2 separate regions of the Homo sapiens genome follow, and region 2 is linked to region 1. The links are contacts of gene promoters, found by promoter capture Hi-C in blood cells and fetal thymus (Javierre and others, 2016). All regions are on one chromosome and are shown on one strand. The core of a region is centred on a gene start or on the middle of the fragment in contact, and the rest is flanking DNA. Distances in the headings are between cores, read along the strand shown. Region 1 holds the start of UCK1 (uridine-cytidine kinase 1). Region 2 overlaps NUP214 (nucleoporin 214).

Region 1 (3,869 bases), core at 617-3,116:
CACCAGAGAGGGCACACGAGACCCAGGCCAGGGGTATCAGGGACAGCCCCTGGTCAGACTCTGCTAGTTTCCCTGCCTTTCGCTACGTGGCTGGACCACAGGGGAAGAAATGGCAAGAAACCGTGTCTAACTCTCCCTTGATACAAATTCAAAGTTGGCTTGGGGGATGGCCACCTTTGGGACACACACCTGGACAGATCTAAGCCAGCAGCGTGGCTGTTTGCTAGGCACTGTTCTGTGCCTGGGGCTTAATTTACAGAGGTACGGCTGAATGACCATGAGGAGAGGCCAAAGCCATCGCAAGATTGATCGCATTTCCTGAGAGAAGGGGCACCCATGCCATGCACGGTTCTCAGTAGAGAACCCCAGGTTTGGTCAGGAGGCAGAAGCAGGGGCGAGGGGAGAGCCCAGGCCTGAGGCTTTCTTGGGGTTTCCATGGAAAAGGCCTGGCAGGGCAGGGAAAGAGTTTAAAATTGGCTAGTTTGAGTAATTCTAGCAGGCTCTGGGCTGCAGAGTGGTCTCTAGTCACCTGATACCTGGCCCTGGGTGACTTAGGGCAGGGAGAATCTTGCCTCCAAAGGCGAGAATTAGATAAGGAGGTAGCTGGGGCTGTAGACTTGGGGTCTTTTTTTTTTTTTTTTTTTTTTTTGAGACAGAGTCTCACTCTTTCCCCCAGGCCGGAGTGCAGTAGCGTGATCTTGGCTCACTGCAAGCTCCACCTCCCGGGTTCACACCATTCTCCTGCCTCAGCCTCCCGAGTAGCTGGGACCACAGGCGCCCGCCACCATGCCCGGCTAATTTTTTGTATTTTTAGTAGAGACGGGGTTTCACCATGTTAGCCAGGATGGTCTCGATCTCCTGACCTCGTGATCCACCCGCCTCGGCCTCCCAAAGTGCTGGGATTACAGGTGTGAGCCACCGCGTCCGCCCGGGGTTGTCTGTTTTGTATATGAAAAGCATGCTCTGCCCCGAGCCTTAGCTATCTCTCTCTCTTTTTTATTTTTGAGACGGAGTCTTGCTCTGTGGCCCAGGCTGGAGTGCAGTGGCACCATCTCGGCTCACTGCAACCTCCACCTCCCGGGTTCAAGCGATTCTCCTGCCTCAGCCTCCCAAGTAGCTGGGATTACAGGCGCCCGCCACCACGCCCAGCTGATTTGTTGCATTTTTAGTAGAGGCGGGGTTTCACCGTGTTCGCCAGGATGGTCTCGATCTCCTGACCTCGTGATCTACCCGCCTCAGCCTCCAAAAGTGTTGGGATTACAGGCGTGAGCCACCGCGCCCGGCTGGAAATCCATAATTTCAATGGATCAGAATTTGCCTGTCACGTTCTCTGTGCCAGGCACGGAGCGGGGGGGCGGCAGGGATGGAACCCGGCACATGGGCCTCTGCCTCCTTGGCGCGCTGTAGGCGCGAGCCTAAAGTCATCAGGCGACAGCCCCCGCCACGTTCCGGGGCGCCCCGACGGCTCCAGCAGCGGGTGGGGTGGGAGGCGTCCGGACAGTCCGGAGGCCTCGATGGCCAAGAGGAGCCTGGGCTGGAGGGGGCCAGGCCCGGGGGCGGCCGGGGGAGGGCCCGGGACTGGCGCAGAGGCAGCGCGAGGCAGAGGCAAGCACTCGGACGAAGGCGCAGCCCCAGCCTCGGGGTGCGGAACGGGCACCTTCCGGGCCACTTGAGTCTGAGACCTTGTAGCCGGCTCGAGGCCCGGGCGCAGCAGTCCCTGCCAGCCAGCTTTCGGCGCAATGGGACGCGGGCGCTCCTGGTGTGCCGGCCTCGGGCCCTGCACCCTCACGCATGCGCGGCCCCCCCCCCCCCGGTGGACTACAACTCCCGGCGTGCCCCGCGCGCCTCCCGGAAGTGATCGCTCCGGTTGCCTCCGACCTCGGCGCTGGGCGGGCGCGCCGGGCCTGGGGAAGGGGCGGGCGCGGGGACCCGATGCGCGGGAGCGGAGGCCGAGATGGCTTCGGCGGGAGGCGAAGACTGCGAGAGCCCCGCGCCGGAGGCCGACCGTCCGCACCAGCGGCCCTTCCTGATAGGGGTGAGCGGCGGCACTGCCAGCGGGAAGGTAAGGGGCCGAGCGGGCCGGGGTCTCGCCTCTCGCCGGTGCCTACGGGCGGCCCGGTCCAGAGAGGAGACCCCAGCCCCGGCCGAGGGGCCCCCTGCCAGGCAGGGGCAGGGCGCGGGAGCGAAGGGGCTGCAGGCCGCGATGGGCCGGGGCGGGCTGGGGCGGGCGAGGGGTTGGGGCGCTGGGCCTCGGGGCTCCCCCACAGCCTCTCCGCCGGCCGGGCTCCTCGGAGCCCCAAGTCCGTGCTAACCCCGTTGGGCCCCCGCGGCCCTTCCGCTGAGACCATCCACACCTGTTGGTGTCCTCCCGCCTTCCGAGCATACCCCCCAGGGGGCGGGTGGGTCAGTGTCTCCAGAAGCCGGCCCCGTGCCTGTCACAGGACGAGCGGTTCCAGGCGGGAATCCCGCTTCTGTGTCTCCAGTCGACCGTGTGTGAGAAGATCATGGAGTTGCTGGGACAGAACGAGGTGGAACAGCGGCAGCGGAAGGTGGTCATCCTGAGCCAGGACAGGTTCTACAAGGTCCTGACGGCAGAGCAGAAGGCCAAGGCCTTGAAAGGACAGTACAATTTTGACCATCCAGGTAAATCGCGAGCCCAACGATGTGGGGAGGGCAGACCCCATTCTGGGCGGCCGCTAACCAGCTGCGCTTGGGCCCAAGGTTGGATGGATGCAGACCCGCTTGGGCTGTTCCCCCAACTCGCCACGCAGCCTGCAGTGGAGTTGGCTGCACAGTGAAGTCAGGGGAACTTTGCTGAGTTCTCTGGGCCCTGAGTGTCCCCCCAGGAGCGTGGTTGGAGCCAGTCAGGAAGCCTGTTGCACTGTGGGGAGCCCTGCCCTGCCCTGCCACAACTGTGATCCTGGAGAAATCCTCCCATCTTCCCTTCCCACGTTGGGGCCTTTAGGGCCCTCCACACACACCTCTGCCCACTGTGCCCTCCCGTGCTTTGGGGCAAAGTCCTCAGAGAGGCCAGTGTGGGAGGCGGTAGGTAAACTAGTGCTGGTGGCTTGAAGCTCCGGGCCAGGTAAACGGGCAGATGCGGCAGGGAGACACCTGCCACTGCTAGAAGATTCCACCCTGGCTGGCTGGCATGGTCAGCCTTTTCCCAAGGACTTGTGGGAAGAAGGCCTGCAAAGCCGCAGTCTAACCAGTTAGTCCCAGAAAGAGAGAGAAGCAGAGGCCCAGCCTACCCACCTCCCAGGAAGAGCTGATCAGAAAACCCCTGTGTTCCGGCATCTCAGGGGCACAGAGCTTGGGCAGTGGCACAGCCCGAGAACAGCAAGGACAGGGTCATCCTGTGGTCTGCAGGGCTGCAGAGGGCACTGTTGCTACCAAACATACACTGCCGTAGTCCTAGTCTACCTGTGCTAGGGTTCTCGGTGTCCCCAGCACCCAGCTGTGCTGACCCCAGAGCAGAGAGGGTTCCCTGCTGTCCGCTGCACGAGGGCATCTGCCTGTCTTGCCTTTGTCTCCAACCCTGCAGATGCCTTTGATAATGATTTGATGCACAGGACTCTGAAGAACATCGTGGAGGGCAAAACGGTGGAGGTGCCGACCTATGATTTTGTGACACACTCAAGGTAAGCAGGTGGTTCTAGGGAGGGCCGAGGAGAGGGGCCAGCTAGGACGTCCCCTCGGGCTCACACAGACCTGCCTGGCGGCAGGCCTCCCCCGGTTGGTTTCTGTGGGTCCCCCACCCCTTCCCACAGTCAGTGTCCCTGCAATGGAAGCTGACTGTGTGTGTGGCCTGGAGACCCTGTGTCTGCAGCAGAGCCCCTTTCCCCGTGCGCCCCTCAGGTTACCAGAGA
Region 2 (3,869 bases), core at 564-3,063, 400 kb after region 1:
ACCAAATGAAAACAAGAAAATGGAGCAAACCAATAAGATCTATCACACACAGCTAATTATCAATTCTCATTCCTCTGTCAGTCCATGGAAGATTGTAGGATCATCTCTATCAGGCAAAGTGGAAAAAAGTAAAATCATTTTAACGATATAAGCCAATTGATTTATCACTGGGCTATTGAATTGAAAGCTAAAAATGCTTTTTCAATAGATTACTGCCCAGAAAGCTGCAAAATACAGAAAACTCTGTAGTCTTTACATAAGACAAGGAGAACAGAGAAGGTTTCCAAATACCAAGAAATCACTGGCCGGGCACAGTGGCTCATGCCTGTAATCCCAGCACTTTGGGAGGATGAGACGGACGGATCACTTGAGGTCAGAAGTTCAAGACCAGCCTGGCCAACATGGTGAAACCCCGTCTCTACTAAAATATACAAAAATTAGCTGGGCATGGTGGCAGGCACCTGTAATCCCAACTACTCTGGAGTCTGAGGCAAGAGAATTGCTTGAACCCAGCAGGTGGAGGTTGCAGTGAGCTGAGATCGCGCCACTGCACTCCAGCCTGGGCGACAGAGCAAGACTCTGTCTCAAAAAAAAAACAAAAAAAAAAAAACAAAACCAGAAATCATTCTCCTGCTCCCATTTAATATTTAAAATGCTTTTCCGCCCAAAGGTACAAATGACTTTCAGAGTACCACCGTTACAGATCCAGAAACAATTATTCCCAAAAAACACTTCTAAACCAGCTGTACCAAAATATTTCTCCAGAAATCCCAAGTACATTCAGGTTAAATTATGTATGCTGTTTGGCTTCAAGGACATTAACTATGGGTATAAAGAATACTCTCAGCCGGGCACAGTGCCTCACACCTGTAATCCTAGCATATGCGGGGTGGAGGAGGGCAGATCACTTGAGGTCAGGAGTTCAAGACCAGCCTGGCCAACATGGTGAAACCTTGTCTCTACAAAAAATACAAAAATTAGCTGGGCATGGTGGCGCATGTCTATAATCCCAGCTATTTGGGTGGCCGAGGCACGAGAATTGCTTGAACCCAGGAGGTGGAGGTTGCAGTGGCTGAGATGATGCCACTGTACTCCAGCCTGGGCGACACAGTGAGACTGTCTCAAAAAAGAATACCTTCCATCCTTAACCTCCCTCGTCATGAAAAAAAAAACCAAAACACAAAAAGCTATCCACTTTCACTTCTAGAAATCAATTCTTAAGTAGATGACCATGATTGTATGCTACAGTGTGAAAGCCTTTATTACTCACCAGAGGTTACTGCTACCGTGGAAGGAAGAGTTGCACATACTTTCACTGTTTCCGTGACTTGCAGGACAGCAATACTACCATCAGCCAGACAAACTGCCACCATGGAGGGGACAGTGGGGTTCCACTTCATATCAATCACCATGCCTCCTGCATCTTTCAAAAGCTTATGATAGGCAAATGGGCGTTTTTGCTGTTTAGCCTTTTAAAACAAATATGCAAAAGTGAAATAAGTTAACAAATAGTAAATGCAGAAACATTTAATATTCAATGGAAATTACTGAATACACAAGGTATCTCAAATCAGTTTATTTTTCTCCATAACCATAAAAAAAGATTGTTTTATGCATCAATCTATTTGCTATAGACAATTTCAACACAACTTTGAAAATGGCAATCAATTATTCTAACATGCTTAGGGGGACTCTCAGAAGGGGAATGCACAATTGCAAAATAACCAATAAATAGCAGACAATAGATTAAAATCTTGGCTCTGCTTCTTAATAATGTTGGGACCTTGGACAGTTACTTAAACTCTGAGCCTGTTTCTCTACCTATAAAATGAAGATAATAGTACCTACTACATAAGGCTGTGGTAGGCATGAACGAGGGACAAGGCATATAAAGCACTTAGTACAGAGTCTAACACACACAGTCAGTATAAACACTCACTATTATTATCATTCTTAAACTGCTTGGAATGGAAGAACATCCAAAATGTAGGAACTTTTGACATTATGTATTCATCTATGACTTTGGGCAAGTCACCTAAGCCTCCTGATAACAACTTAGGGCAGATGGCGTTATGAAAGAATTTCTTGAAGTCCCTTCTGTCTCAAAGATCTATGATTCTATAATTAAGGATTTTTTTTTAACCCATATTTTAATCTAGAGAGAAACTTCAAGGGTTAACCTATGAAGCTTCCAAGTTGTAATTCAATACAAGGAAATCTGCTTAGGGTTCTCATGTTGACATCACAGTATAACAGTAGCTTACCTCATTTGAGAATGTGCGAACATCAAAAAAAGCAATAATGGAACCATATTCACTGGACATCATGCACGCAGAGAGTGTGAGGTTATCACAGCTCAAGGCCAGGTGATGGATTGGGAATTTCATAGGAACTAGCAAGCCTTGGACTTTATCAACTATGAAAACAAAAAAATACAAAGCAGAAAACGGTATGTTCTAAGCATAAAGCCACAACCTCTATCCAGTTCGATGTGAAAAAATTTTTGCATCTACATAAACACACATACACCCCAATACCTAGTTATACAGATAAATCTTAACTTTCTTAAAGATATATAATGATGGATTAAGTATCCCTGGAATTCTTCCTCATACAATCTGGGGAAACTAACTGTGGCTGCTGCCCTTGTTGAAAATATTTTTGCAACAATGCTCTAAATAGTACACCTTGCCAATAGTTTGGATCATACTGTTGTGCCAACTGAAAACCCATGCCAATAAAACCCTTCACCCAGAGAGCCAGAGCCCAAGTTCAACTGAGCAAAAATAAAAGCATGGCATAATGGTTAAGTTCTTCCCTGTTGAGCTGAGAGGAACAACTCATGTAAGGAGAAATACAAAGGACCAAGGAGAAAACCTAGAAAGGCTTCCATTAATCTTCTTGGGAGTCAACCTTCAAACTGACAGCAGTGTTCATTTTAGTATTAGAATGACTTCTTGGGAAGGAAACACAAGAGCATGCCACCATACTCCTCTCTCTACTTTGCAACATAAACCAGGGAACTTACCTATTTTGTTGGGATCATCTCCGGGTTTATTTTGAATAAGAAGATTTTTAGTAGGAAAAATCTGCAAGCCACTGGCTCCACCAGCGAAGACCAGACCATATTTGTTGGACACAGCAAGCAGACTCGAGCGTTCCTTGGGCAATTCCTCAGGGGAGTCAAAGATTCTCACCTTCTTTAGCGCTCTAAACTGAAAATCCTGTTGTGAAGAATCAAAACGAGATCAATTCAATAAAGAAAGAAATTAAAACATGTTATATTCAGTAGACCCAATTTCAGTACAACAAAAATATGTATTACTGAGACCAAGGTCTGTCTCAATTGTCTTTTTTTCTTTTTTGAGATGGAGTCTCGCTCTGTCGTCCAGGCTGGAGTGCAGTGCAGCGATCTTGGCTCACTGCAACCTCTGCCTCCCAGGTTCAAGCGATTCTCCTGCTTCAGACTCCCAAGTAGCTGGGATTACAGGCACCCGCCACCATGGCCATCTAATTTTTGTATTTTTAGTAGACACAGGGTTTCATTATGTTGGCCAGGCTAGTCTCGAACTCCGGACCTCAAGTGATCCATCCACCTCAGCCTCCCAAAGTGCAAGCTCACAGGCATGAGCCACCACACTCGGCCCTCATTTTTTTCTGATATGGAACACTTCATGAATTTGTCTGTCATCCATGTAAAGGGGCCATAATAGTCTTCTCTGCATGATCCCAATTTTATATGTGCTGCCAAAGGGAGTGCGAGATTACCATCTTCTAAGTCTGTGGTTCTATTAATAAAACCTTTTTTTCTTCTACCCCAGCATATCTGAGGAATATGACACAACCCCATTAGGTGGCTCACCACAGGT

What was found. The method cuts DNA at HindIII sites, captures the fragments that hold promoters and counts their contacts. A CHiCAGO score of 5 or more calls a contact.
Region 2: a fragment that was not itself captured here is called in contact with the fragment with the promoter of UCK1 in region 1 in 3 of 17 cell types (total CD8 T cells, fetal thymus and non-activated CD4 T cells); the score reaches 6.6 in total CD8 T cells.

The regions. Positions count from the first base shown.
Region 1 is chr9:131,529,260-131,533,128 of GRCh38, reverse strand. UCK1 (uridine-cytidine kinase 1) reads left to right here and starts at 1,866. Exons shown (of 7, transcript NM_031432.5): 1 at 1,866-2,062; 2 at 2,484-2,643; 3 at 3,545-3,641; 4 at 3,859-3,869. The coding sequence starts at 1,955. RefSeq lists silencers at 1,461-1,630, 1,771-2,130, 2,331-2,380 and enhancers at 1,796-2,709, 3,415-3,869. The HindIII fragment of the contact is 8,496 bases long and covers 1-3,869 here.
Region 2 is chr9:131,126,879-131,130,747 of GRCh38, reverse strand. NUP214 (nucleoporin 214) reads right to left here. Exons shown (of 36, transcript NM_005085.4): 2 at 3,029-3,224; 3 at 2,265-2,416; 4 at 1,271-1,469. It also overlaps the pseudogene RNU6-881P. Among named protein-coding and RNA genes, the nearest start is that of NUP214, 3.2 kb to the right of the region's middle. The HindIII fragment of the contact is 755 bases long and covers 1,436-2,190 here.